6 separate regions of the Homo sapiens genome follow, and all the other regions are linked to region 1. Evidence: promoter capture Hi-C in 16 types of primary human blood cells and fetal thymus (Javierre and others, 2016). All regions are on one chromosome and are shown on one strand. Each heading gives the region's core, a stretch centred on a gene start or on the middle of the fragment in contact. The rest is flanking DNA. Distances are from core to core; before and after follow the strand shown. Region 1 holds the start of NUP155 (nucleoporin 155). Region 2 overlaps ZFR (zinc finger RNA binding protein). Region 3 overlaps SUB1 (SUB1 regulator of transcription). Region 4 holds the start of TARS1-DT (TARS1 divergent transcript). Region 5 holds the start of TTC33 (tetratricopeptide repeat domain 33). Region 6 overlaps AMACR (alpha-methylacyl-CoA racemase).

Region 1 (4,983 bases), core at 1,389-3,888:
TGTAATTTATGAGCTTTTTTTTTTTTTTTTTTTTTTTTTTTTAGAGACAGAGTCTCCCTTTATCAACCAGACTAGAATGCAGTGGCATGGTCATGGCTCACTGCAACCTGGAACTCCTGGGCTAAAGTGATGCTCCTGCCTCAGCCCACCAAGTAGCTGGGACTACAGGTCCACACCTGGCTGCCCAGGTTGGTTTTGAATGCCTGGCCTCAAGAGACCCTCATGCATAGGCCTCTCAAAGTGCTAGAATTACAGGTGTGAGTCACTATACCCAGTTTATGAGCATGTTTAATGTAATTTCTGAGCACATGCAGAGCTTCCAACCCCTGACATGTAAGCTGTGGGCTAAAAGCTACTTTGGAGCAGTCTTAACAGAAACTCTCTGAAAGGTTGCAATCCTGAGTCTGAATCAAACTGACTTTAATTCTTTAAAAGAGGGTTATTTTTCTTCAATTGACAGCAGATACAGATATGAGAATCCAGCCATCCGTTACTGAGCCAGACACTAAAGAGATTTGCAAAAATATGAAATAATCGCATTCTTCTCCCTGTTTTAGAAACTATAGTGATTTCTCATTTTAAAAAAGTGTTATATTAACATGGATTAAGCTTGGTATGCTTTTTTTTTTTTTTTTTGAAACGGAGTCTTACTCTGTTGCCCAGGGTGGAGTGCAGTGGCACGATCTCGACTCACTGCAACCTCTGCCTCCTAGGTTCAAGTGATTCTCCTGGCTCAGCCTCCTGAACAGTTGAGACTACAGGCGCACGCCACCACGCCCAGCTAATTTTTGTATTTTAGTATAGACGGGGTTTCACCATATTGGCCAGGCTGGTCTCCAACTCCTGAACTTGTGATCCACCTGCCTTGGCCTCCCAAAGTGCTGGGTGCTGGGATTACAGGTGTGAGCCACTGTGCTCGGCCTTGTTACTCTTTTAAATACAATGTTAAACATTTTAATTTTCAGTTTGAGTTATTCACAAATATTAATAGATGTAACCAACATGAAACAAAAACTCTCTGGAATCCTGAATAATTTTTAAGGGTATCAAGGGGGTCCTAAGACCAAAAAAATTCATAATTATCTGTTCTAGGGAAGAGGTCAGCAAACTTTTCCTGTAAAGTGCCAGAGTCCGTATTTAAGGCTTTGCAGTCTTTTGTAGAAATTACTCGGTTTAGCAGTTGTAGTGGGAAAGCATAGGCAATATGCCAATGAATTAAGTTAGTTAGATTACACTTTGGGGAGCTTTACTTCTATGCAGGAATATCACAGCAACGTTGTTGAATCTTCCAATTTATGGAGTTGAAAACTTTGTGTATTTTGTCTCAAATTAAAAACAAACTCGGTGCCAGACCACCACTTTTCAATCTATGGTCTACCAAATAAAGTAAACTCACAGCTAGAGACCCAACTGCCTATCTATATACCAATGATAAAAAATCCAGTTTTTCTTGGTATATTGGCTATGTCAAATTTTAAGTGTAGATTGGTAACATCAAAGAACTTTCAATTTTCAGAAATGTAGTCAAGTCTTTGAGGGAGTAAAAATGTAATTCAAATAGCAAAAGACCAATTTAGAGTAATTCAGTTATTGATTTGTGAAATTCTGAAGAACATAACTGGAAGCTTTCTTAGGTGAGATTCTAAATAAGAGCAGCTTTCTAAAAAGTGCTTTGATTTACCCACTCAGGTTGCCTTCTGTAGTAAATGAAGCCTCTTTTACCTCTCTGCTTTCTCCTATCCTGCTATAGTTTATACCTATCCAAATAGAAAAATTATAATGAAGCCCTTTGTCTCTGCTTGAAGCACCTTAAGGACAGGAAACACTGTGTTAGTTTGATAGTCCCAGCACCAGGCACAAGGCAAGTATTCAGTTTCTTAGGATTGTATGAACTCTTGGGTTCCTATCTCATACGAGTTCCTATACTAGCGCTGGGAATGGAAAGATGAATTAGAACTGTCTGCTATCTCTGCCACGATAAAAAGCACGGCAGCGGTCCACCTGCACTCAGCTTCTTCTTAAACACGTATTTTATACTAAGGGGCAACAAAGTCAAAAGACAGCGACACGCAAATGGAAAAGCCTGATGAATTCTAATTTACACTGAAGCCCGCGAAGAATATAGTGAGATACTGGTTTATATCCCTCTCTGTGACAGCGACCTACCAATTCTTAACTACTCTCACAAAAGCAGTTACTTGGAGAACCAAACTGCGCGCTCATGCGCGAACTCATATAGCTGCAGTTAGCGGATACCGACGCGGGAAGTTCCAAGACTCAGGTCGAGCACGCGCTTAAACCAACGGAACCTGACCAACCTCCTAGGCCAGACACACGACCTAGCTCCCACCTACCGTATCCCTCCTCCCTCCTTCCTCCTCACCCTATCCAACCCCATCCCGCCCCTCTCCTTCCCTGTTCCCTCCCCTTTATCCTTCCCTTCCTTTCCCTCCCTCCCTTCCCTAAATAACCTACCCTAATTTTACCCTGCCACACCCCAAAACCCTCAACCCCCTCGAAAGCATCAGCAGCCTCCTAGCTCCACCCACAACCTCTAGCCCCCTCCCAACAGCTTCCTCTTCCCAGGCCAGAACGGCGTCTTCCAGTTCCCCACCGGATGAAGCGGAAGTGCGTCATGTCGAGGCGCCAAGGCGCTCGTTTGGCGCGCGCGCCCTAGGCGGCGGATCTAAGCTAACTTCTTGGATCTTTTCTTGTTTCTCCTTGGTTTTTGACTTTTTCTGGACCCTGGTGTCTACGATTTCCGAGATGCCGTCTTCTTTGTTGGGCGCGGCGATGCCGGCCTCTACATCTGCCGCAGCCCTGCAGGAAGCTCTGGAAAATGCTGGACGGCTCATCGACCGTCAGTTGCAAGAGGACCGCATGTACCCGGACCTTTCCGAGCTGCTTATGGTGTCTGCCCCAAGTGAGTGATAGTGACCCTGCTTTCTCAACCTAAAGGACTCTCGCCTGACTTCCTAATTTGCTACTTATCCCCAGCGTTGGTCCCGGCGAGGATATGCTGAGATTTATGGCACTGTTGGCTGCATTTTTGGAGAACAGCAAGCAGCTTCTTTTCAGGTTTTTTCCTTTCCTCACTTTCTTCATTGTAGATACTTGAGAGGGCAAGAGTGAAGAGCAAGCTCCCAGTTGAAGCAGAAAGAGGCAAAGACCTCAACCTTAATGAGCTTCTCGCCGCTCTCAAGTGCTTATGGCTAAGGCCATATGAGAAGCATCTCCAGATCCAAGTCCCAAATTTGTTCATTTCTCCTGTTAGTGTTTGAGTAGATCGTAAGAGCAAACGAAGTTAATTTGGAAATTTAGCATGTTATCTTAAAGATACGCTTTGCTTTATATTTATTTGTTTATTTATTGAGACGGAGCGGTTCCCTCTTCGCCCAGGCTGAAGTGCAATGGCGCGATCTCGGCTCATTGCAACCTCCGCCTCCTGGGTTCAAGCGATTCTTCTGCCTCAGACTCCCAAGTAGCTGAGATTACAGGCGCCTGCCACCAAGCCCGGCTAATTTTTGTGTTTTTTAAGTAGAGACGGGGTTTCACCATATTGGCCTGGCTGGTCACGAACTCTGACCTCAAGTGATCCGCCCGCCTCGGCCTCCCAAAGTGCTGGGATTACAGGCGCAAGCCACTGCACCCGGCCAAGAAACGCTTTATTATGTGTAGAGATGTGTGTTATGAAATGCTGGAGGATCTTAAAAGAACTACCAGTGGAATAAAGAAAGAGAACAGGGAAATCACAGTGCTTATGTACAGGGAGAGTAAGGCAGAATATGTGTTGACAATATAGGTGACTGGAAAGTAATTTGTTTAACAGTTTTAAGTTATAACCAGCTCCCCACGGCTTATGGAATTACATCAGTTGCTAGAAAAAGTGACCCCTTTGTGAGATGGAATTTGGAGAAAACCAGCGAAGTGTAAGAAAGAAAAGATTGTTGGTGAGCAAGAACCAAAGTAATCTAAATAGGATAATTTGTGCAGTGTAAACCGAGAACACTTCTGATTATTTATAAAAATCATTGATAGCTTTGTAATCAAAGAAATGATAGAAACAAAGATAGTATTTGCTCCCTACAGCTACTTACCAATGAGCGTGTCTTATAATACCTGATTGGCCTATTAGCAATTATCATCTTGAACAACATTACTCATTTTGGCCTCCTTAGGTGTGAAAACAAGATATAAAAACAGTGCATGCATTCTGGTCCTTCTCTTACATATCTCATGCCTTTACACACACCTTCCTCTTTCACCCAGTCTCTTCCCCTTCTTTTCCATCCAATTTTTCATCCGTTGCTCTGATTACAGAGAATTTAGCATATTTTCCGTAAGAAGCCCCATCTTCAGGATTTCCTCAGGATTTTATCTTACTTTTATTGTTTCTGCAATGTTCTTTTTTTGCCTGACAAACTTTTTCCAGACTCCCTGTGAAAGTCCTTAGTTTCTCTTTGTTGTCTTTCTTTTTCTTGTTCTTTTTTTTTGAGTCAAGGTCTAGTTCTGTTACCAGGCTGGAGTGCAGTGGCATGATCACAGCTCATTGCAGCCTCTAACTCATGAGCTCAAGTGGTCCTCCCGCCTTGCCCTCCCCAGTAGCTGGGACTACAGGCGCCTGCCACCACACCCAGCTAATTTTTAATTTTTATGTAGAGACGTAGTCTCACTCTGTTACAAGGCTGGTCTCAAATTCCTGGCATCAAGCAGTCCTCCTACCTCAGCCTTCCAAAGTGCTGAGATTACAGATGTAAGTCACACTCCTGGCCTGAAGTCTTTCGTAGCATTCCCATCCTCACTAAAGTTATCGATTCCTCCCTCTGTGTTCCCACTGCCATTTAACATGGTGATCTGCCACCTTCGGCCTATTAAAGTTATGTTTTAGGATTAAATGGGATGTCTGGATTTGCTTTATTTATTTATTTTTTGAGACAGAGTCTTACTGTCACCCAGCCTGGAGTGCAGTTGGCATAATCTTGG
Region 2 (4,983 bases), core at 650-3,149, 4.9 Mb after region 1:
CTTGAAATAAGATAATTTTCATTCCAAAAGGATTGTTGCTATTACACTGATGATAAAATGGCTATTAGTCTTAATAGAGTAGGGTGAGCCAGAATATCCCTGTATAGAATAGGTATCTGCTTGAGTATGCTTTTGTAAACTGCCTTATAGTACACTATGAACAAAAGGACATAACTTTGGAACTATATAGAGTTTGAATCCCAGCTCCATCCCTTCAGGCACCCTGGCCAAGTATCAGCTTCTCTAAGACTTGGTTTCCTCACCTGACTTGCCTTGAGGTGAAGTTTAAATATAAAATTTTCTAGCCTAGTGCCTGATTATCAATAGGCATTCCTATCAATGCTGTTTCCTGTAGAGATTTAAGTAATAATATTATAAGGGTTTTAGAAGGATTCCTTGGTTAATATCTATCATATATTTATATAGAGAGTTTCATAATCTCACAGTAAAATGTTTTAAAACATTTGGAGTCCTCATTACTAATAGAGAAAGAAGGAAAGTTTCTATTTACAGGTAACATGATTGTTATGCTTGTCAGGCAAGAATATGAGAAGTAATAAGAGTACAGCAAGTTTTCTGGATCTATGATCAGGCAAAGGCCGGGAGCGGTGGCTCATGCCTGTAATCCCTGCACTTTGGGAGGCCGAGGTGGGCAGATCACTTGAGGTTGGGAATTCGAGACCAGCCTGACCAACATGGAGAAACCCCGTCTCTACTAAAACTACAAAATTAGCCAGGCGTGGTGGTGCATGCCTGTAATCCCAGCTACTCGGGAGGCTGAGGCAGGAGAATAGCTTGAATCCAGGAGGTGGAGGTTGCGGTGAGCCAAGATCGCGCCATTGCACTCCAGCCTGGGCGACAAGAGTGAAACTCCGTCTCAAAAAAAAAAAAAAAAAAAAAAAAAAATTTTCAGATAAAATCAGTAGCATTCTTGTTTCATCAATATTGAATTAGATTATTAAATTTCAAATAAGTCCTGTTTATGTATAGCCACCAAATCTATTAAGTAAGCAGGAATAAAACAAATGAAGTATTCAAAACACTTTGAAGAGAAAATACAATAGGATAAAAAAGTCATAAAAGATGACAAAGATGGACTGTGTTCATGAGTGAAAAACCAATGCCATCAAATTATTATCTCCTATATATATTTAGCATTACTCCAATAAAAATCTCATAGGATTTTTGGTATAACTTGATAAAGGGATTTTAATGTATATAGTGAGGAGAGTGTTCAGCTAAAAATATCATGAAAGTCTTGCAGAAATGATAAGGAAGGACTTGTAATATCAGATACCAAAATATTATTAATAGAAAAATGTGGTATTGGTACAGGGATAGACAGATTATTGAGTTAAAATAGAGATCCCAGAGATAGACATGCTTATATAAGCAGTTGGATTAGAGTATATATCTAATATATGTCTGTTTAAATAGATGTATTTGTTAAAAAAAAAATCAGCTACATTTTTACTCAGAGACATAGATCATCAGGTTAATCAGAAGACCATTCAGGCTTATAAATGTTGTAATTGATGAAGTATGTTAGTATTATTTGGATGGATCTTTAGTCTACTTATTAAAGGTTGCTTGACTATTAATTGTCCATGACACCACTCTGTCAGAATACAGGATTAGAGTGATTGTTCTGAGTATATCATTTCTTAGTATTTCATGAAAGCCATGTACAGTACAGCTTTTATTCATACAGAGATAAAATGAATGAAATAAACTTTGGGTTTTTTTTTGTTTTATTTGAATATTAGTCTTGTATACACTTTATATTAAAGTGCATTTGTAGGGAATAATTCACTTATTTAATATTTTATGAGCATCTACAATATGCATAGTCCCTGCTTTCAGGGAGTTTACACTTCTGGGGCATGAGGGTGGAGACAGATGAGTCTACAAATAACTATGCCATTATAATTAAGTTTTAATGAAATACTAAAATGGGAAATTGGAGGATTTTGACTATGGAGTTTGAGGTAGACTTCGTGTTCTTTCATTCTGAAAATCAAGGGAAGGTCATTTTAGACAAAGGAAAAGTATTGAGCCAAGACAAATATCTGGATTGCATGATATAATAGAGACTGGGTTGGCTCTGAAGTCAGACTACCTAAGCTGAATCTGGCTCCTCCTATTACCTGCCATGTGACCTTGGGCAAACAGTCTGTTGTTAGTTTTTTTATCTATAAATTGAAGATAATATTTTCTTTGCCTCATAGGAAAACTGCACATGTAAGAGAAAATGAAATGTCATAAACCGAGTGTACCTGTGTAACTTGCACTTAAATTAAAAACAAAAACAGAACATTATCAGTATCCCAGGAGGTTTTTACATTCTCCATTGTGTTGTTTCGAGGATTCACTATTATTTGTAAGGTGGACCTGGCAGTGACTCACACCTGTAACCCTAGCACTTTGGTAGGCCTAGGCTGGAGGATTTTAATCCCAGGATTTTGAGACTAGCGTGAACAGCAAAGTGAGACTCTGTATTATTAATAAAATGAAGAAAAGAAAACATTATTTGTGAAGTGTTCAGAACAGTATCTGGCATATATTATATCTCTATCAATGTTAGCCATTATTCAGTAGGTGGCTGGTGAATATGGATGAAACTAGAGAAAGTACAGTGCCTGGCATATATCAAGCATTCAGTAGACATGTTTTAAATTATTTATAGAAAAATAAAGAATACAACTATGGGGCCAGGCACGGTGGCTCACGCCTGTATTACCAGCACTTTGGGAGGCTGAGGCGGGCAGATCACAAGGTCAGGAGATCGAGACCATCCTGGCTAACACGGTGAAACCACGTGTCTACTAAAAATAAAAAAAAAAATCAGCCGGGCGTGGTGGTGGGCGCCTGTAGTCCCAGCTACTCGGGAGGCCGAGGCAGGAGAATGGTGTGAACCCAGGAGGCGGAGCTTGCAGTGAGCCGAGATCGCGCCACTGCACTCCAGCCTGGGCGACAGAGCGAGACTCCATCTCAAAAAAAAAAAAAAAAAAAAAAAAAAGAATACAACTGTGGTTACCAACTTTAAGGTAGGACCAGGGAAAGAAAGAAATACTGTGTGAACAGAGAGCCAGGAGAATTTAGGGTCATGAAAACCAAAAGATGATAGCAAGGTCGTCAGCTTTAGAGTTGCTGGATTAGGGATTTAGTACAGTTATCAAGTTACTGGTGTAATTTTAATGAGTAGCCTTTATAAGGAAACTAGAATCTGATCACTTGGAGCTACAGAAAAAAATAGCATAAAATTTTGCTTAAAATAAGTTTGTAGTCTAGTGTTCACATAGATACTTAAGAGCTCCAGAGGTCACATGGGCTTAAAGTATTGGGAAGCACTGTGGTTGAAATCAATCAAATGAAAATAAATTTTTTGAATTCATATTTCTGGGAAAAGCTATAGTATAAAATACACTACTAGTATGGTAGTCAGCATTAAATGGGCAAGGCATGTCTTTGAAAATAGGCTTGAAGAAATATGACCCTTTTTGATGGGAAAAACAATAAAACTGTTTAAACAATAACCATGTAGATGAGAGCAAAGAGTGCTGTGATTTATGAAAGTGGCTTTATAGCTTCTCTTACTTCCCCAATCCTGCCCATTCCCAAACCGTTTTATACTATAAGCATAATGGTCTCTATGAAATGTAAATTTAATCATAACACTCTTCTGTTTAAGTTACTATCAGAATATCTGGTTATCCTAGTTTTATATTTAGAAGTCTGTAATGTTTCACCCACATTTACGAAATTCACACACTTCCGAAAATATTCGTAGTAAGCTTGTAAAAGCTTGACAGTAAAAACTGAATTGACAGAAGGTTAGCTTTTTTCCCATCTCACTCAGTGTGAATATTCATACCTTTCCTTGAAGAAGTGTTAATACATTTGAGAAATGATGAAGGATTTATTTTTCGTGAGTATAAAAAGTTACAGAGGTCGGGTGTTGTGGTTCATGCCTGTAATCCCAGCATTTTGGGAGGCTGATGTGGGTGGATTCCTTGAGCCCAGGAATTGAGGTCACCAGCCTGACCTGAAGCAATCCACTTGCCTCTACAAAAATTAACCCCCCATCATGGTATACACCTGTGGTCCCTGCTCCTCGAGAGGCTGAGGTGGGAGGATCACCGGAGCCTGGGGAGGTCAAGGCTGCAGTGAGCCTTGATTGAGCCACTGCACTCCAGCCTGGGTGACAGAGTGAAACCCTGTCTTTAAAAAAGAAAGAAAGAAAAAGTTACAGAGTACTTCATTTTAATTAATTTATGGTATCCTTCAGGGTTTATTGTACCCAATCAATAGTGAGTTTCTTTTTTGAGTAGTTCTAGTTACAAGGATTGACATTCCATGACTTTTATTTCTTAGAGGCCTTCCAAAGAGCAAAGAAAACATTTCCCTTATTTTTCAAAATGGAATAAAATTCATCCTATCTAGCAAGATTTACATCATGGGATCTTAAACATTTTGCTGTTTTATCATTCTGTGAATTATTTCCTCTATCACGTATTCCCAACTATGTTAAAGACTAATATAATTGGAAAATGGAAGAATGTTGGAATCACCTACAAGGGTGGTACAGTAGTGAAATAACTAGATGATATTGCATTGCCCAAGTATCATATCTTCTTTCAAAAAGCTAGAAAAGAAAGTAGAGACACTAACTTCATAGTTGGCTTTTAGTTTTCCTTCAACACAGTTGAGAATGCAAAATTGTTCATTCTCTGCCCATACCAGCAAAGGAGAAGAAAGTTGACACAGGAAAATGTTTCCCAATTATCAGATAGATCATAAGATGAATGCAAAAAGCACCGCTCTAGACCAATGATAATGTTGAAATTGTATAAGCAGAAAATCTCAGGCTACAAGTCTTCAGCTGATAATGTCCTACATGAATTTTTCAAACTGAAGAATCAATACATAATACATTTCTAAGGATTAAAAAGGAAATATGCCATTCTCATTCAGTTAGTCATT
Region 3 (4,983 bases), core at 963-3,462, 4.8 Mb after region 1:
TCTGTTGCTCATCAGGCCAAAATTAGGCATGTCACATTGCTGCTTCCTGTCCCATAATAATCTATTCATACTTTACTGTCCCAACACTTGACCTGCCTCCTCCAAGTTGCTTTCAAAATGTGCAGTTCTCAATTAAATTTGCATTGGTTTAAATACAGCAAAACTAGACTTTAGAGACTTTAACAATAATCCAGCATCGTACAAAATACTTTTACTAGTTTGTTCTATTTTAATAAATGTCCCTAGTTAAGAAGATTGTAACATACATATTAGGCAATTATCAGATCATAGTACTTTTAACATTCTTCAGATCAAGCCAGATAATAATTCCTCTGAATCTAAAGAAACAGCCAACTTTGGCAAGGCATGGTGGCTCACACCTGTAAACCCAGCACTTTTGGAGGCTGAGGCAGTTGGATCACAAGGTCAGGAGTTCAAGACCAGCCTGGCCAAGATGGTGAAACCCCATCTCTACTAAAAATACAAAAATTAGCCAGGTCTGGTGGCGGATGCCTGTAATCCTAGCTACTCGGGAGGCTGAGGCAGAGAACTGCTTGAACTCAGGAGGCTGAGGTTGCAGTGAGCCGAGATGGCGCCACTGCACTCCAGCCTGGGTGACAGAGCATGACTCCATGTCAAAAAAAAAAAAAAAAAAAATAGCCAACTTTACCTGAAACATGTTATCATCTCTGCTGCTGCTGCTCTGTTTAGAAGATGACAGGGCTCTCGAAGTCTCACCTGTCTTTTGTTTCTTTACAGGTTTTTCTGGAGCAACTTGCTTTTTCCTCTTTAACTAGAAAAGAATATGGTTAAAATTTGCACACATAAAAATAAAACATACCCCAGTGTCAAAAGATCCCATTACTTTTTAAGATTTAAACAATCAAAAGACTACATCCAAAATATCATAAATATATACATAAGCAAGTTTCACTCAACAACAAAACTATGAATCTAACCAATCCTTCTGTCTAGTAATGTTTTCAAACTCTGTTCTCAGGATCCCAAAAGACACTTCAGGCATTATAGTAGTATTAACCACAGGAACGGTTATTTTGTGGTTTGGGATCCCACATACGATTTCTTTGGTAGAAAAAAAAATGGAGGGATCTTGCTACTTCTGAATAAACCTGGAAACCACAGTCTACTAAGGCTAGTCAGTTACTTATTTTACGAAGCAGATATACTAATTAAAAAGAATATAACCAACTTATTCCATTTCCAGGATATGTTTATTTATGTCCTGCCTATTCCAAAAGGAATTTATGCTGGCTTAAGGAATTTATGGGCCGGGCGCGGTAGCTCACACCTGTAATCCCAGCACTTTGGGAGTCCGAGGCGGGAGGATCACTTGAGGTCAGGAGTTCGAGACCAGCCTGGCCACATGGTGAAACCCCATCTCCACTAAAAATACAAAAAAAGTTAGCCAGGCGTGGTGGTGGGCACCTATAATCCCAGCTACTAGGGAGGCTGAGGCAGAGAACTGCTTGAATCCAGGAGGCTGAGGTTGCAGTGAGCCGAGATCGTGCCATTGCACTCCAGCCTGGGCAACAGAGCGATACTCCATCTCAAAAAAAAAAAAAAAAAAAAAAATTAGCCAGGCGTGGTGGCACACGCCTGTAATCCCAGCTACTCGGAAGGCTGAGGCAGGAGAATCGCTTGAACCCGGGACGCGAAGGTTGCAGTGAGCCGAGATCGCGCCATTACACTCCAGCCTGGGCAACAAAAGCAAAACTTCATCTCAAAATAAAAAATTAAAAAAAAAGGAATTTACAATTAGGCAAATCTTTAGAGAGCTATTTTGCACTGGGCACTGACAGCCAGCAACTCAAGAACTTCCTCATTACAAAAAAAAAAAAAATCATTGTAGACAGCTATGTGTTAGACTAGCTTTCAAAAATCACAACGTTGTTTTAAAAACAGCATTATTTTAAAAGCTTATTAGAAAGTCGCATTCTCAAAAAGAGCTAACCCATAAAAACCACTACAATACCCAACCCAAACAGAAGAGGGCAGTCATGTTCCTTCTTGATGGAATAGTATAAATATTTTAATGTTACTAAATTAATTGAATGTTACCAAATTAGATGAAGCTAGGAAAAATATTATATACATGTAAAACATGAAATGAAAAATGTGGTATACAAGGTTAAGTGTTTACAAGAGTAATATTACTATTTGGGACAAACAAAAAGTTAGCTCAATATGCAGAAAGCAATTATTCTATAAATCAGGCTCTAAGTATTCCCTGTGGAATAGTGCATGTCTGGCAAATAAAAGCTCAATACACATGTGTTACATCAACATACTCAAATACTATATAGGGTGCAAATTTTAAAATTAAGAAATTTACTCAAGTATAGTCTTTGAAGCCTTATTTTACCCTTCCATGTGTTGTTATATTCTATATTTATACTTTAAGGTTGCAACTTCTCCAATCTCCCATACGCTCTCCCCTTTTCTTTTAGCTAAAATTGCTAAGCTTCAGGAGGAAAAAAAAAAGATAGGGAGCCTGCTTCTTTTGAATAAACTTTCGGAAATCACAGGTCTACCAGTGCTAGTCATTACTTACTATTTTACAAAGGATATATACTAATTAGGAAAAACACGACCAACTTATTCTATTTCTAGGATATAAATATCTCTTCAGATATGTAAAGTTCTATGCGATAAAAGACAATTCTGCACGGAAGACTTGACCGCAGAGTGAGACGCTCAGTTATGCTCCACTGAGATGCTCAATTTAGCGAAATTCACCAATTACGGTGCAGCTGTCATCTAATGCAGAAAAAGCCTATCTTGTCAATGGGTTTCAAGTTAGCTTTACTGCGTGCTGATTTAATTAAATGGAAGGGACCAGAGCACAAACTTAGTACAAACTTAAAAATGTACCAAGTCTAAAATTCAGAAAACCTTATGTGCAGAATAAACACCAGTAACTAAGAGAACTGTCAAAATTAACATTTTATGGCCACTCATGATGGCTCACACCTGTAATCCCAGCACTTTGGGAGTCTGAGGCAGAAGAATTGCCTGAGGCCAGGAGTTTGAGACCAGCCTTAGCAACACAGCAATACCTGGTCCCTACAAAAACATTTTTTTTTTAATTAACCAGGCATGATGCCTGTAGTCCCAGCTACTCTGGAGGCAGAGGTGGGAGGACTGCTTGAGACCAGGAGGTCGAGGCTGCAGTGAGCCATGATGGTGCCACCACACTCCAGCCTCGGCAAGAGAGTAAGACCCTGTCTTTAAAAAAAAAAATTAACATTTTACAAAAAAAAATCTGGTAAATTTCTAAATAACGGCAAATAGTGACTTTGGCCTACTTAGAATTCTATGACCCTAGGATGCAAGGCAGTGTTTCTGCAACTTTAGGGTTCCTAATGATGCTCAACAGAAGACTTGTTAAGTCTGATTTAGGGCCTATGAGTATGAATGTGCAAAAAGCATCCTAGGCACTTCTAGTCAAGTGGTCCAGAGACCAACCGTACCTCCAGAAATACCCATTCACATTCTTATTTTTTATTTTTTATTTATTTATTTTTTTAAAGAGACAGGTTCTTGCTATGTTAGCCTGGTTGGTCTTGAACTCTTGGCCTCAAGCAATCCTGCCACCTCGGCCTCCCAAAGAAGTAGGATAACAGGCATGAGCCACCGCGCCCAGCTAGATCCTCATTTTAAGATGTTAATACACCTTTTACTATCCTTCAGAATGGGATATGGACAATATTGTTGAGTATCACCAAAATGACTTGGTGCAGCAGTAGTCACCTTTTTGTCAACCTCACTGTCAGAATCACTGCCAGAAGAGCTTGAAGAAACAAGTTCCTTTGATTTAGGCATCCTGAAAGAAAAATACATTACAAAAATAATTAATAAGGTACTCTACTACTTTCAACTTAGCTCTCCCCCAATCAAAGAAAAAAATCAAGGACAAGTTCCACGGTTCATTCTACCATTTTTGTGGTACTGAGTTGTTACACTGAGCACAAGTTTTAATCTATACCCTTTTAAGTTGCAAATAACACGCAGGGTGCAATGTGCTGAACCCAGTAAGAACAATGAACTAAATGTCATACACTCCTACACCTCTAACCTTTCTCCAGGCCAATGGATCTTTCTATACTTCGTTTTAATGGCATTACACACTATGGGTAGGGTAAACTGCAAGAAGGCAGCAGACAACAATTACTATTAAAACCAGAAGAAATGTAATTCTACTATTACTGCTTTAGACTTCTCATCAACGAGATTGGAACTAACGTAAAATTATTCACTATGGGGAACTGACCCCAACATTTACACAACAGGGAACTAGCTGTACTATGCAAATGTGACATCTAATTAATTTTTACATAATATTTTATTCATATTTTGACTTTTTGGCCGTATCACCAAAATAACGACAGGTACTAATTCAAGAGTACACAAAATTATACGCAATTCAGGCCGGGAACGATGGTTCACGCCTGTAATCCCAAAACTTTAGGAGGCCAAAGCAGGCGGATCACCTGAGGTCAGGAGTTCGAGACCAGCCTGGCCAACATGGTGAAACCCTATCTCCACTAAAAATACAAAAATTAACAGGGCACGGTGGCACACCTGTAGTCCCAGCAATTCGGGAGACTGAGGCAGGAGAATCGCTTCAACACCGGAGGCAGAGGTTGCAGTGACACAAGGTCACATCATTGCACTCCGGCCTGGGCAACAAAGCAAGACTCCATCTCAAAAAAAAAAAAAAATCTTACACAATTCACAGCAATTCATTACATTTTACACAGATTTTTCTACTCTGGAACATAATTAAAATTTGAAGAACCTATTTATGGGAGGTGCAAAACCTATTTATGGGAGGTGCAAAACCTTCCCGCAAATTCCTACCATGCTGGTAACTTCCCAGGTCCCCCCAGAGACATAGATAACTTAGTGCCTTGCTTACAAGTGGGTGTTTACTGAGTGCCTGAGTGCAAGTTTGCAGAAAGC
Region 4 (4,983 bases), core at 1,536-4,035, 3.9 Mb after region 1:
TATATTTCTGATAAGATTATTTTGGTTTTGACCATTTGCCAAATGAACAGGGGTAGTGAGAGAGAGAGAGAGAGAGAGAGAGAGAGAGAGAGAGAGAGGGAGAGAGAGAGAGGGAATCACCACAAAGGTTTTCTGGTTCTAAATACGGCTCCATTTTACAAACAAGAACACTGGCTCAAAGAAGTAACTTGCCCATTTGTATCATTAAGTAATAGAGCTGGGAAATTACAACAGGTCTCTCTGGAACCCTGAGGCCTATGACCCCTTTTCTACAACACTGGGAAGAGAGTAGGCAACTGTTCTCTATTTCCCTGAGTATATATGGTATGTACATCTACATACAAGTAATCTAAAATCTCAACCCAAAAGTTGGGAAACAGAACCGGATTGTGAAGAGAAGCTACAGAATTACCTTTCTCAGGAATGATCTGTCCCTGACTCACTCAGAACAGCACAGGGGTTATTAGTATTGGCTATAGGATACTGGGTTTGAGGAAGGAAAAAAACGGGGATACTGGGTTTGAGCAAGTTACTGTTCCTACGCCTGCTTTCTCATCTGTATAATGGAGATAATAACAGAACCCACTTCACAGCGTTATTAAGAAGACTGAATGAGGCCGGGCGCGGTGGATCACGCCTGTAATCCAAGAACTTTGGGAGGCCGAGACGGGCGGATCACGAGGTCAGGAGATCGAGACCATCCTGGCTAACACGGTGAAACCCCGTCTCTACTAAAAATACAAAAAATTAGCCAGGCCTGGTGGCTGAGGCAGGAGAATGGCATGAACCCGGGAGGTGGAGCTTGCAGTGAGCCGAGATCGCACCACGGCACTCCAGCCTGAGTGACAGAGCGAGACTCCGTCTCAAAAAAAAGAAGACTGAATGAGTTAATTCATGGAATGCATTAATACAGTGCCAAACTCGTATTTAGTACTCAAAATAAATATTAACTATTGTATAATTATTACAGGAAGGAAAAATTACATATGTGTTAACCATACATATCACGTCCAATTAAGAATAGCACAGGAGAATATTTATGGACATGGAAAGTTGTTGACCACATTCTATTAAGCAAAAAAAAAAAAAAAAAAAAAAGTTACAAAACAGTAAAAATATCATTTTATGTGAAAAAAATCTACGTATAGTCACCATTTATCATCTAGAATTAAATTTACATAGTTAGAATGTGCCCGTATGCAGTTTCTCCATTCAATCTCGAGTGGACAATCAAGAAAAAAATTTGGCTTTTAAGTGAACTGTCCTGTCACAGACTTGGGATAGAGGATCCCTTAGCTGAAGACGTCACCACTTCTCACTTGGACTATTACAACAGCCTTCTGCATGTGGCCTAACCTTCTATCCCAATGCCAGCGTGACTTTTACAAATACAATCTTCCTGCTTAAGATCCTTCATGTATAGAATACAAGTTTCAAACATCCTTGTTGCCTAAGATCCTTCTGATTACTGTTCCTTTAACCCTTCTGGCATATCTCTTGCAAACAACCCGAAAGACAATTCACCTGCGTGCCCCTTTTCACTGCCTTCCCTACCTTTACGTGGGAAGCCCCGTCCTGCCTGTTTACCTGGTGAAATCATTCTTCCAAACTAAATTCTAAAGTGCCTTCCTAAACTTCCTCTTCTGTAATACCACAAGGTTGATCACAAAGCACTAGGGCTGTTTTCCTGTCTCTTACACATCAGCCTGTGAGGCCCTCAAAGTCGGGGAACTGGGCCCTATTCATCTTCCCACATGCACCGCCCAGATCAGTGCCGGGCAAAATGTATACTTAACCACCCAAACTTGGACAAGCTGGGTCAGATCTCGGGCACTCGGTTTTCCTTTCCTTAAAATGGAGCTCTTTACCCCCGCAGGATCTTAGGAGATTGATTAAATAAGGCTCTGCAATGTGTTTCCCGCTTACAGTAAGCCATAAACGCAAGTTTGGAAGCCTCAAGCCTAAGATTCTGATTCTGTCTCCGCGTCTAACTACTGTAGATGTGAGGCTCTGAACAAGTCGCTCACTCAAGGTCTGTTTCCTCATCTGTAAAGAGAATGGACCCACAGATGAACTGCAAGGCCCCACCCTAATTTATGAATGGATGGTTCCCAAAGGGGGTTCCGACTTTCCAGGAGTCCCACCATCCCCCACTTCTCCGACCCACGCGGTCCCGGCCGCTTCCTGCTTCCTGCCCCCCGCTCCCGCCGCGAGCGTAGCGTCTGCACCCACTAGAGTCCCAGGCTGGTCTCTGGGTCCCACCAAGTTTGCTCACCGGCTTCTCCTCGCCTCCCATCTTCCCTGAAGGACTGCTGGCCTTCTCCTCAAACATTGGCGAACGACGAAGCGATGAGAGAACCCGAAAGCGACGGCCTAGAGGAGAGGAGCCAAGAGGCGGGTGGGAGGTGGGCTAGCGCCCGGGACTTGGCCTCGGCTGGACCAGCTGATGCAATCGAAAGGCGCCCTAACCCCGCCCCCAACTTGCGGCGGAACGAGCAGCCAATGGATAACGGGGGAAGGCGGGCCCTCCCTCCTCTAAGCCAGTGGAAAATCTTTTCGGGTGACAGAGCCCTTCTAGGAAATCAGGTCGCGGAGGGTGAGGAGGAGCAACTGCAGAAGCTACATGCCTACTCTCCGCTGACCTTGGTCTGGACGCTTTCCAGAGTCAAGTCCCCAATGCGCGTGCGCCTTTCCTCCCTTCTGACTTTATGTGGAACAATCATGGACCTTCCCGGACACCGTAGATAATAAGTAGGTCTTGGTCTAAACTTCCGGGAAGTTTTCGGCGACCTGGATACCATCTTCGACACGGGGACAAATCCCGGGATGGAGTCCAGGGTTTCCCGCGGCTTCGGCGCTTCCTGACCTGGCGTGACTGCCGACTTGTCGGCACCACCCAGGCCTCAGGCTCCCTGTCTGTAGTGGTGAATCGACCTTCCTCATGGCAGTCCAGGCTTCCCAAGCCCCATGTCCTGTTGATCCGGGACAAACTCTTCCTTGAACGTTCTTCACTACGAGCCGCTGCTGATCTGTACTGCCTGGAGGAGCATTTCCATAGCGCCCGCAAAAATACAATAAAGCTCACCCAAGGAAATAACCATGGATTCTCACGCCTGGGTGCCAGTGTTTGGAATCGACTGGGCTTTTTTATGTTAGTAGGCAATTTAAAACAATTACTTATTTGAAATCAGAAGCGCAATAGGCATAACTTCAGGTACGTGCTCCACCACCACGTTTTGTGGATTTTTCTTTTTAAACATCAGTTCTGTTCTCTACAACTCTCCGCCTTCAGGGTTATACTTTCCAGGAACAATAGCTTCCCAATTCGGCTTTGTGCATCCATTTTTCATACAGCATCGTTGTAGTCTTCAAATACAAATATGATCACGGCAATCTGCTGAAAAATCTTTGGTGGCTTTCCCTTGCTCTTGGACAATCCCTGATTGTCCAAGTTTTCGGCTTCATCTCGTTCGCCCACCATACACTGAACTATAAACTGTAGTGGCTTTTTTTCCTCAGGTCTTCCCACAGACTAAGTACCAAGATTTTTCCACCCTACCCTCATCCGTGCTCATTCCGACACACTTTTTGCCTGTTTGACACCTCATTTATTGTCAGATTTCAAGAATCGTTTTCTTCGGGGAACCATTTCTTGACTCCCTTACTGGATGAAACAAGCCTCCCTGTTAAACAGTGTTGGAGGCGCAGAAACATACCCCCAAATAATGGCGTTTTGACATCTGAACTGAAGAAGCCTCAAGGTCCCACTCCCCTAAATCCCCACGCCATCTCTGCCAAAGCAAAGGATAAAGTTTAGACACATCACAAGGAACATAATTGTTTTTGTTGCCTCCCTGTAAGACCAAGAATGTAGTAATCACACCTGAGCAGACCCTTTCACAAGATGTTGTACAAATTAATGTGTTCCTGATACATTCATTCTCCTTTGTAATCCCTCAACAGAATTCCTCTTCTCCCTATCATAACCTGTGTCGCTGGGATTGTATCCACAAGCTTCTGAAGCCCTCTGAGGGGTGGGTAATCACGCTGTGATTCTTCCTGTGTATACACGTTAAGTAAATTTGTATGTTTTTTCTATTAATGTTCCTCATGTTAGTGATTTTCAGCCAAACCTCAGAGGGCCAAGGAGAAAGGTCCCCTTGGCGCTTACAATAGTGTCTGCTGGTAGTTTCATGTGGTTCTTGGTAGAACTTACCGGTTCAACTTGTTCTTTCACTATGTGTGTATTTAGAGCTAAGCAAGTTTACTATATATGTGTATATATATATATATATACACACACACACACATATACACATACGTATATGTATATACATATATTATATATATATATATGCACAGTAATGGTTCTGATCAGTTGGCCTAAGAGTACACCCTATGTGGGGCTTCACGTACTGCTACACTCACAGGCAGAATTGGGGGTTGTTTTTCTGTCCAGAGTGATTGATCCTGATTACAAGGGGACAAGCGGGTTTCTTCTACATAAAGGAGAATTTTGTCAAGAACCCAGGAGATTCACTGAGACCTTTTTTAGTACTTCCTTGTCTAATGTTTCGCTGTTGGAAAACTCTGGGAACCCAACAAAGACAAGGAAGGAAGGAAGGTTTGGGCTATCCTTCTAGGTAAAGAATCTAGTCTAGCGAGGTCCTGACAAAGGCTAAGGGTAACTTGAAAAGGTGCTAGGAGAACAGAGTTATGCAATATTAGCTACCTAATTTGCAGATTACATATATATGTATACACATATACATATGTGTGTGTGTGTGTGTGTGTGTGTATATATATATAACTGCTCTTTAGCTGACACCTTGATTTTAATAATAGTCCTTTTCTTTTCTTTTTTCTTTGAGATGAGGTCTTGCTCCATTACCCAGGCTGGAGTGCAGTGGCACAATCATAGCTCACTACAGACTCAAACTGCTGTACTCAAGCAGTCCTTCTGCCTCAGCTTCCCAAGTAGGT
Region 5 (4,983 bases), core at 1,354-3,853, 3.4 Mb before region 1:
ATGCAGTGGCATGACCTCGGCTCACTGCAGCCTCGACCTCCCAGGCTCAAGGGATCCTCCCACCCCAGCCTCCCGAGTAGTTGGGATTCAGGTGCGTGCCGCCAGGCCTGGCTAATTTTTGTATTTTTGGTAGAGATGGGGTTTCGCCATGTTGGCCAGGCTGGTCTCGAACTCCTGACCTCCCAAAGTGCTAAGATTACAGGCGTGAACCACCGCGCCCGGCCCATTTTTCTTACTGTGAGCGTGTGGTGGTGAAGAGCTCCAGTACGGTTTGGTGTCATTACTGTAATTCCTGTGGAGGGGCCAGCACCTTGACCTACCATTGCTTTTCCACCATCAGTGCAAATGTCAGCATTGTGCAAAGGGCAAATCACGTCTTCATATTAGTATGAAAATAATTTTGGCTTTGAAAGGGTGTCATTGACCCTCAGGACAATCGTTGGTCGACATCAGTGGTTCTCAACGGGGCAGGGTGGGAGGGATAGTTTTTCTTCCAGGGGAAATTTCACTGGGGAAACCATTGGCTGTCACAATCGACTGGTGGTGACATCCCGTGGACAGAGACCAGAGATGCTGCTAAGCACCCTACAATGCACAGAACACCCCGTCCCCCAACAAAGCATTATCCAGTTTGAAATGTTAATGGTGCTGAGGCTGAGAAAGTATGACTTCCAAAAATGAGTCTTTTGGGCAGGAGAGTTGGAGAAATTAACAATCTTGATTACCTTTATTACATGTGCTCGTTTATTTTCAAGACATGATGCACAGCTACGTTCTGGCTGTAATTCTGCCTTCTGGGTCCAACTCACTTGTAACTTTAACGTGAAGCCTGCAGTTCAGCCTCGAGCCTCCCTGACTAGCCTCCCCGCCCGGCCGCCTCGAGCCCTTTATAACCGAATTTTGCCTCTCTGTTCTCTGCGTCTGGCCGACCTCATCAGCTAGGCTATAAACCCCTTCGGGGAAGGAGCATATCCTAATCCTTTGAATCCCGTAAAATAAGTTTTCCCCTCACCTTGTTCCCCACTGACGGGACGCGAGGCTGCGCGGTACCGCGGGGGCGGCTCCTCTCGGTGCGCTCTTCAGCCCGCGCAGCCTCATTTTCCCGCGCTCGTGCGCTGCGGTCACTCAGGGCTGCTGCTAGAGGGCGCGCCCAGCCGCGTGGCCCTGACTACTACAAATCCCAGAAGGTCATGCAGTGGGGGCGGCCGCGGTGACTTCTGGGATTTGTGGTCCCGGAGAAGAGATTGGCGGAGGGGAAAGACTGAGTCGTCTTTCCTTTGCCCGCTTCTGTGGACTGTTCGAACGCCCAGGGGTGGGCCAAACCCGTTTCTTAGGAAACCAGGAATCCAGGGAAGGCAGGTAGGAATTTGGGCGTGATAATTTCTGCTTCCAGTGGGAAAGAATGTAAACACGGGGCCTTGGGAGCCGTTATCGGGTAACTGGGGCTGCCCGGTCGGCGGTGGAAGCTGAGGAAGAGGAGGAAAAAGAGGCGAGTGGGTGTTGTGATTAGGGGAGAAAGGACCTTCGGAATAGGAGTTGAAACCCGACGGGATCCGGCAGAGCCTGGTCGCTAGGGTTGGTCTCCAGGGACAAGCGAGTCTGAGGGTCGGGCCCGCCGTGGCACCTTCGCGGAGCTGCGCGGCCGCAACCTTCCCTGAGCGGTGGGACGGGCGGGACGAGCCGGCCGCTCCCCGCTGGAGAGGTGTCTGCGGCCCGGGGCGGTCCGTGAACGCGCAGGTGACGTCCGGGGCAGCCTTTCTGAGCGTTTTTATTATTGTTGACCGATGAAGGGAAAGTCACTAATACTGGTTTTTCTCTTGCGGTGGCGTTTTTGGGTAAATCGTTTCTTGGATTCCTCACCTCTGAATACCTCCTTTTACCCAGAAGGATGCTGTTGTGATTTCCTGATCTTGTTCATGTAGTGGTTTTTCCCTTTGGGTGCTGCATCCTCAGACACACTCAAGACAAGCCCTCTCTGGCGGCTGGGTAAATGTGAAGCCGTCGCCAGTTGTTGAGCGCCTACTATAGGGATCTTTGTAACAGTACAGGAATTTAGAATACAGCGTCGTTGTTTAGAATCGTTATGCCATTCCTGAAATATAATCCTATATAAAAGGTTGAATTTGTCTGGTTTCATGAGTTTAACATGAAACCGGTGTGGATTGTGGTTTACTCTCATGGTTTCTTACTCTGGTAAAAAAATGTTAAGTCTAGGATGTTGAAGCCTCGTGCTTCTAACTAGACTCAGGAAAGCCTCCTTCATAAGAAGTTTTAATTTCATGTTCAGATAGTCATAGAGGAACAATAAACTCGTTCGGCTTAAGATATCTGAAACAACTGGGAATGTTAAATTTTCTAATGCAGAAAGTGCTTTGCATGCTCTAGGATTCACATACCTTTTTAAGCCTGGCTAAGTTTTCTTCAAAGCTTAAGTCCTCCAGAAAGCCTCAAGTGTCTCTTCTCTGATGTCATGGCATCCTTTGTTTACTCTCTTGTAGCACATATCGTGTATGAAATTGACTGTACTCTGTGGTTTCCAGACACTTTTGAAGAAAATATAAAACTTTGCTAATGGCCTTGATAACAGATTCATGCTTTTACACAGTAGTGGGCCCTTGATACTACTGTTTGGTATCTCTATTTTTCCTTTGTTGCTTTTCCTTATCTCCACAGTGACTATTTTAGTCTTTTCCCTTTTTCTCAAGAACTCAGATCTGTTATTTTCCTTTTACTTTGAGCAGATGACTAGCCGCTGTTTGCTGGAGAAATGTGAAGCTTGGGGCATGAAATTCCTCATTTTCCTTTCCCTCCATCCCTGAACTTGCCTGTATGTTTCACTCAATATTAACTCCTTTTTTTGTCTGAGAGGACTGTATTTTTGTCTCCCTCTTTCAGGTTAAACTTGTCGATTGCTAGTGGCATCAGGCCTCCCACACCCTCATAACCTCAGTCTGTCCTGACCTCTGCAGCCCCTGATCTCTAGGTCTCAAGGGATCTGTGGAGGAGAATGGCTCAAACACCTGAGGCAATAGTGGCGTGGTTTTTTCACATATGGTTGAGAGCCACCACCTTGGGCCATAACTTATACTTGTCCCCAGCATTTATAACAGTGGTTTGGGTTGGAAGATGGGGAGGGTAATTGGAATCTGAATGACCTATTAATTTTAAAAGATGTGTGGGTCTGTTTCTCACTTTTTCCTTTCCTTCCCACCCTATCACAGCCCCTCATGTAATCTACAGATCTGATCAACGGTTTTTTTTTTTACTTTTTTTTCTTTTGATCAATGATTTTTATTGTAGTTTACCTCCAGTAAACACACTAGGTGTCCTTTAGTATGAGTAGGGTTCCCACAGTGCCTGGTGCCTCACCTTATGAATAAAGAAAGTTTCATTTGGAATCTTGAAACCGGAAAACGTGGTCATCATTCTTGTTACCATTAGGGATAATCATAAATACAAGACTTCTTTTTATCTTGTCTTACACTGATATCTTGTGAGTCTTTCCTAATGATCTGTATTTTCTCAGGTTGTCCTCACTGTGTGCCTTTTAACTTCTGTTCCATAGTATCCACACTTCTGTTTTCAGCCATCTTCCCCTACAATACTCATAGTCATCTTCAAACATGGGAAACTCATTCTCCTATAATATGATCGGCCTGGGGAGAGAGTTTGCATTGTCCTTATTCCCCAGCACAGTTTATAATCCATTAGTCCTCCAGGTTTTAAAAAAAATCTCAGTTCCTGTGGAAAGTTTGTGGTTCACTTATATTATCAGCCTGTATATTTCTTTCTTTCTTTCTTTCTTTCTTTTTTTTTTTGAGATGGAGTTTTGCTCGTGTCGCTCAGGCTGGAGTGCAATGGTGCAATCTCGGCTCACTGCAACTTCTACCTCCTAAGTTCAAGCGATTCTCCTGCCTTAGCCTCCCAAGTAGCTGGGATTACAGGCATGTGCCACCATGCCCAGGTACTTTTTGTATTTTTGTAGAGACGGGGTTTCACCATGTTGGCCAGGCTTGTCTTGAACTCCTGACCTCAGGTGATCCGCCTGCCTCTGCCTCCCAAAGTGCTGGGATTACAGGTGTGAGCCACCGCGCCCAGCCTGTATATTTCTTGATTGCTGTGATTTATTGGCACTCTCTCATATTCATTAAGAACTCAGACATACGACTCACAATTTTCTTACCCCTCCAAATTCTGCCATTACGGTAGGTCTTTCCATGTGAATGACCTCATAGCCACCCTCACTTTTTTTCTCACCTTCCTTCTAGTGATTACAGGGATCATTTTATTGTGCTTCACTTTATCACACTTCATAGATACTGCGTTTTTGCACATTGCAAGTGCTCAGTAACCCTGTGTCCAGCAAGTCTTTTCGTGCTATTTGTCCAATAGCATGTGTGCACTTAGTGTCTCTGTGCTACATTTTGGTAATTCTTGAAATATTTCAGATGTTTTAATTATTACTATATCTGTTATGGTGATCTGTAATCGATGATCTTTGGTGTTAACAATTGTAATCATTTTGGGTTGCCATGAACCATGCCCATATGAGATGGTGAACTTAATCAATAAATGTGTGTTTTGAATGCTGTACCACCAACTGGCTATTCCCATCTCTCTTCTTCTCCTTGGGTCTCCCTATTTCCTGAGACACAGCAATATTGAAATTAGGCCAGTTAATCCTACAATGCCCTCTAAGTGTCCAAGTGAAAGGAAGAGTTACACATCTCTCATTTTAAATCAAAAGCTAGAAATGATTTTAGGAAGACCTGTTGAAAGCCAATACAGGCTGAAAGCTAGGCCTCTTGCACCAAACAGCCAAGTGGTGAATGCAAAGGAAAAGTTCTTCAATGAAATTGAAAGTGCTACTTCAGTAAACACACAAATGATAAGAAAGCAAAAACCGCTTTATTGCTAATATGGAGAAGCTTTGAATGGTCTAGATAGATCAAACCAGCCACAATATTCCCTTAAGCAGGAGCC
Region 6 (4,983 bases), core at 1,199-3,698, 3.4 Mb after region 1:
TTTGGCCCCAGGGCTACACTAGTCGCTCTGAACCTAGTCTGGTTCCACAGACTGCCCAATTCATGAGTCATTCGTTGCTCAGTTAAACTCTTAAATTAATTCGTCTAAAGTTTTTCTTTTAACAGTATCAAAGGTTGGTGGCAAATTGAGGCTGCGGTTTCCCTGTGTCAGGGGGCTCTTCACTCGCATGCATGGTATATGAGTGATGGGGCAAGAGAAGCCGTGTGCCAGGGTAGCCACTGCCAGGCCTTATGATGAGACGAGGAGGGTTCCTGCTGTATTTCTTGTCCTGTACCTCCTCTGATGCTAAGGATTAGACCAGAGCTTGTTTTTGTCCTGAGTGGACCCAACTGGATCTGTAACTCTGTTAACACGTCTATTTTTCAGCAGTCTCATCAGGGCGTTCAACATATAAAAGAGATTAAAGGGGTATTTTATTAGCATAAAACATTTTATGTTTACATATTCAATATTTATATATTATTTTGTCAGACCAACGAAGCTGTTCTGCTAAACACAAACACTGGAAGTTAGAGTTTATGGGTGATTGTCTCATCGCTTTCAGTATTCAGTTTATTACTGTATTTCATTTTGACTGGATGTTAGGAAAATCCTGAGTTACAGAGATAAGTTAAAAATATCCATAGTTTTTACGCAAAAATTAGCTGGGTGTGGTAGGCACCTGTAATCCCGCTACTCGGGAATCTGAGGCAGGAGAATCGCTTGAACCTTGGAGGTGGAGGTTACGGTGAGCTGAGATTGTGCCACTGCACTCCAACCTGGGCAACAGAGTGACACTCCATTTCAAAAAAAAAAAGACCCTATATTTTTAAAAACTTGCTTAAAATTTCAGATTGCATTTCATTTATGATGAAGCAGAACAAAAATACTTTGTTTCTAGGTCGACTCACTACAGTGTGTAAAAACTTCTCACATTCTTTGGCCTGAACATGAAAGCCAGATAAACAGTATTCAGAACTCTCTGCTAAAACTCTCTCTTGCACTGTATGACAAGCTTGCTTCCAGTTCATCTATTACCGCCCTATTGATTCGGCGTTAGGCTCTGAGAGAAGTAAAGCTTGAGCGGAAAGCAGGCACTTGCTTATTGAAGGTGCTAACTTGTTGGTTTTGTATGAGTCAGCACAAATTAAGAGGAGAGGAGAACCATGCAGAACAAAGGTTTTCCTCAATAGTGTTTCAAATACAAGGTAATATTTATGCAAAATTGGAAGGAAAAGCTTTATTTTAAAGTCTAGCAACAAATGTTAATGAGTTGAGGCTCTGATGAGTCAGAATTTGGTATAGGATACATTTAAATATGTGCTTAAATAACATAAACATAAAATATATTTAAAATAGTGCGCATATACATGCATATGTGTATATATGTGTGTGTGTGTATGTGTATAAATGTGGAACTCTAATATCTCTGTAATCCAGCCTCAAAAAAAGGCACTGCCGTAGGCCACTTGCATGAACTCAGCTATTTGGTGACAATAAATGTCACAGCCATAAATTCAGATGTGCGTGAAATTTCAAGTTAAGAGGGAAAATTGGATATATCCAAAGATACATTTTGTGGTTGTTCCACAGTCAGTAACTGAGAAATTGCTAGCAGTTGGAATGAGGCCTGCTCTATTGGTAGCTTTTGAGACGAGGATGCTTTGAAGGCCTTCCTCCTGGGGTGCTGGAGACATTAGGCTCATAAAAGGCATAAAGGTCAGAACATCATCTTCTTCAAATAGTCCAGTGCCTTCAGCCTTTGAGTTTGAGCCTTGTGATAATTGTACTTTATTGTGTAATTACTTCAGGACTCAGTGGGAAGGTGGCGTGATGAGATGACTTTAGGACTCAGTGGGAAGGTGGCATTCCCAAACCAGTTTGCCTGGACTCAGAAAATGCACATACCTGCCATCCATATTGTTAGTTTATTTTATAACTTTCTAGTGATTATGAAATACATTAAATACTCAAATACAGTTTTCTTGGGATTGGAATCAAGCCAGAATAAGCCAAATTTTACTCTTATGTGATTTACCTTTAAAATGTGGTATGGTTTATACATCTGTGTGTGTTTATAGGTATGGAGATCAGAAGATGGATTTTTAAAAGCTCTTTTAATTTTTAACTTTTTATCTTGGCAGTTTTTAACATTATAAAAAGTAGAGAGAATAGTATAGTGACCTTCCATGTACCCTCACCTAGCTAAATCACTAGCATTTTGCCAATCTTATTTGAAATGGAAAGCAAAGGTCATTTCTTCTAAGTCTTATAGTATTTTTGGAACTGAATAGTGCAGCCAATTGTTATTTTAACACAAACTGCTCTAACTCACTTTCTGGAAATACCAGAGAAGTTGTGTAATTAGGTAGAATCTTCGTATACTCTAAGATAAGAATTTTTACGCAAATTTTTTTTAACTTGAATGGGAGGAATTATTCATGCTTTGACACTTGAGTTATCTGGATTTGTCTTGTATTCTGTTTTCTCAAAGGTGGAAGGAACAGCATATTTAAGTTCTTTTCTGTGGAAAACTCAGAAATTGAGTCTGTGGGAAGCACCTCGAGGACAGAACATGTTGGATGGTGGAGCACCTTTCTATACGACTTACAGGACAGCAGATGGGGAATTCATGGCTGTTGGAGCAATAGAACCCCAGTTCTACGAGCTGCTGATCAAAGGTAAGTGAACTTCACGCGTCTCCCCCAGTTCCCCTTTTGCTGTGGATGTTCTTTGGTTCTATTTTAAAGACTTTTGGCATCTAGGATGTCTTTTATTATATAGCCACTTTCTAATTAACCTAATTATAGCCATCAATATAATGTGGGGCATTTTCCATGGCTTTTAAATTGACCAGCAGTCTTACTAGTCTATAAAATAGCTGAGGGTTTTAAAAATAATAATCCCTTTTGTAGGATGTTCGGTGCTTTTATTACAGTTCACTCCTTGTGTTGGATAATCTTGACCCTGTGTGCCCAGATCTTACTCTTCCCTAGAAATGATCTCACATGGGTTGCTTTCCATTCAATATTCTACCAGCTCCTATTTCTTGGTAGATGTCCCTTATGGCACTTCAATGTCAGAAGTCACCAGAGCATGGAAAGATTTTGCCAAATGAGATTCTGTTAGAATATGTTACTATATCACTATGCCTTTGCAGATGACCTGTCTTGCAGATTCTTGCCTGCTTGGCAAGTTGTCATAAATTAGCAAGAAAATTTGGGATCTCTTCTTCCCTAATTAAATAATTGGATGGGAGTCGTTTTGTTCCTGAGAAATGTTTGAATTTAGAGTTCACTCTATAAATAATGTAGAATCTAAGAAGTTTTAGAATATACTCTGAAGTGATGTGAAAGCTGATCACAGTGCATTTACCTTTCTACTACAAGTTTAGAGTTTCATTGTTACGTTTGGTAGCTTTTCAGATGCATATACTAAAAGTTATTTGCATATAGCTGGAATGACTTTTTTTAAATTTTCCAAATTTTTGATGTGTTCTTATCTGATGGAGTAATTGTTTTTGCAAGCATCTGAGAGCATTTTATGATTAAACATATTAACTTCACCTATTCAAATATAGTTGGAAAAACTATAGAAGAACACAATGGTTTATCTAGATCATAAAGGGTACCTCTCTGTCCAGAAATTAAAAAGCTTGCCTTTTGTCACTGCTCCAAATAAATTGGAAGCTCTGGCTGCTCATGATGCTCTGGTGGAGCTCTGTGGAGCCATGAACACTGCCACCTGCAGTCTGATGAAGATAGCAAATGATATTCATTTTCTGAGTTCTGGTCCTTGGCCAGGTCTGGGAGAACTGATCTTGCTGAAAATACAACAGGAAGCAGTATCGTGCCAGGCAAGGCAAACCCTCGTCAGTGTGAAGCAATGGCCATCGTTGCAGCCCAAGTCATGGGGTTTTGTGTGGCAGTAACCGTTGGAGGCGGCAATGGCCATTTTGAGTTGGATGTTTTCAAGCCAATGATGATTAAAAATTTATGTTACACTCAGGCTGCTGGGGGATGCTTCAGTTTCCTTCACAGAAAACTAAATAGTGGGAATCCGGACCAATAAAGAAAGGATCAAGAAGCTAATGAATTAGTCGCTAATGCTGGTGACAGCTCTCAACCCTCATATAGGGTATGACAAAACAGCAGAATTGCTAAGACAACACCCCAAAATGGATCAACCTTAAAGGAAACTGCCGTTGAACTTGGCTCTCTCACAGCAGAGCAGTTTGATGAATGGGTAAAACCTAAGGACATGCTGGGTCCAAAGTGACTTAAATAAGTTTTAATGAAAATAAACGTGTAAAATTAAAAAAAAATACTGGACATTTTAAATAATTTAATGTGACAACTCCCAGGACTCCTCAGGATCCCTCAGTCCTGGGCTTGTTATTGTTGCTGTTTGTTTAATGATTTTCTTAAATTAAATCTGTATTCTTTGGCATGTGCAGCCACCGAAGTCAGCTGAGTTAGCTTCAGCTAATGATTGGACAGAAATGTCCTTAAATACCTTTTTTTTTTGTTTGCTTGTTTGTTTTAATCTAGGGGACAGGGTCTCACTCTGTTGCCAAGGCTGGAGTGCAGTGGTGTGATCATAGCCTTGAACTCTGCAGCCTTGAACTCTGGGGTACCAGTGATTCTCCTGCTTCAGTCTCCCAAGTAGCTGGGACTATAGGCAAAATTTTTTATTTTTGGTCGAAATAGAATCTTGCTATTTTGCTGAGGCTGATCTTGAACTCCTGACTTCAAGCTATCCTCCTGCCTCAGCTTCCCAAAGTACTGGGATTTCAGGCATGAGCCACTGCGCCTGGCCCTTAAATGCCTTGAACCAATAAATCTCCCATCTTTTTCTGAGGCACTATATGCCTTAACTTCTTGCTTGTGAAGAGCCTCAAGGTCAGCCAGAGGTGAGAGACGAGGGCCTTTACAGATCTCTCCCAGGCATTCATACTGCCCTGCGTGTGTACGTGTGCGTTGC

The links. Contacts are between HindIII fragments. The CHiCAGO score rates a contact against its expected background, and 5 or more counts as called.
Region 2: a contact is called between a fragment that was not itself captured here and the fragment with the promoter of NUP155 in region 1, in 2 of 17 cell types (total B cells and naive CD8 T cells). The highest score is 8.1, in total B cells.
Region 3: a contact is called between a fragment that was not itself captured here and the fragment with the promoter of NUP155 in region 1, in 1 of 17 cell types (non-activated CD4 T cells). The highest score is 8.1, in non-activated CD4 T cells.
Region 4: a contact is called between the fragment with the promoter of TARS1-DT here and the fragment with the promoter of NUP155 in region 1, in 1 of 17 cell types (monocytes). The highest score is 6.4, in monocytes.
Region 5: a contact is called between a fragment that was not itself captured here and the fragment with the promoter of NUP155 in region 1, in 2 of 17 cell types (non-activated CD4 T cells and total CD4 T cells). The highest score is 6.6, in non-activated CD4 T cells.
Region 6: a fragment that was not itself captured here is called in contact with the fragment with the promoter of NUP155 in region 1 in 1 of 17 cell types (activated CD4 T cells); the score reaches 5.2 in activated CD4 T cells.

Annotation. Positions count from the first base shown.
Region 1 is chr5:37,368,761-37,373,743 of GRCh38, reverse strand. NUP155 (nucleoporin 155) reads left to right here and starts at 2,638. Exons shown (of 35, transcript NM_153485.3): 1 at 2,638-2,923. The coding sequence starts at 2,767. RefSeq lists enhancers at 2,646-2,735, 2,856-2,965. The HindIII fragment of the contact is 10,669 bases long and covers 1,628-4,983 here.
Region 2 is chr5:32,434,177-32,439,159 of GRCh38, reverse strand. The region is part of intron 2 of ZFR (zinc finger RNA binding protein); the gene reads left to right. Among named protein-coding and RNA genes, the nearest start is that of ZFR, 8.1 kb to the left of the region's middle. The HindIII fragment of the contact is 3,794 bases long and covers 3-3,796 here.
Region 3 is chr5:32,587,373-32,592,355 of GRCh38, reverse strand. SUB1 (SUB1 regulator of transcription) reads right to left here. Exons shown (of 5, transcript NM_006713.4): 2 at 3,772-3,844; 3 at 671-793. The coding sequence starts at 3,843. Among named protein-coding and RNA genes, the nearest start is that of SUB1, 4.3 kb to the right of the region's middle. The HindIII fragment of the contact is 545 bases long and covers 1,940-2,484 here.
Region 4 is chr5:33,438,436-33,443,418 of GRCh38, reverse strand. It overlaps TARS1-DT (TARS1 divergent transcript), which reads left to right and starts at 2,785. Exons shown (of 3, transcript XR_001742630.2): 1 at 2,785-3,214. TARS1 (threonyl-tRNA synthetase 1) reads right to left here and starts at 2,454. Exons shown (of 19, transcript NM_152295.5): 1 at 2,276-2,454. The coding sequence starts at 2,332. RefSeq lists enhancers at 1,346-1,932, 1,947-2,006, 2,267-2,456, 2,557-2,866, 2,521-3,108. The HindIII fragment of the contact is 5,282 bases long and covers 1-4,016 here.
Region 5 is chr5:40,752,200-40,757,182 of GRCh38, reverse strand. It overlaps TTC33 (tetratricopeptide repeat domain 33), which reads left to right and starts at 1,222. Exons shown (of 5, transcript NM_012382.3): 1 at 1,222-1,359. RefSeq lists an enhancer at 1,199-1,348. The HindIII fragment of the contact is 348 bases long and covers 2,430-2,777 here.
Region 6 is chr5:33,996,339-34,001,321 of GRCh38, reverse strand. It overlaps AMACR (alpha-methylacyl-CoA racemase), which reads left to right. Exons shown (of 5, transcript NM_014324.6): 4 at 2,495-2,681. It overlaps C1QTNF3-AMACR (C1QTNF3-AMACR readthrough (NMD candidate)), which reads left to right. Exons shown (of 9, transcript NR_037951.1): 8 at 2,495-2,681. Among named protein-coding and RNA genes, the nearest start is that of AMACR, 9.2 kb to the left of the region's middle. The HindIII fragment of the contact is 2,416 bases long and covers 1,241-3,656 here.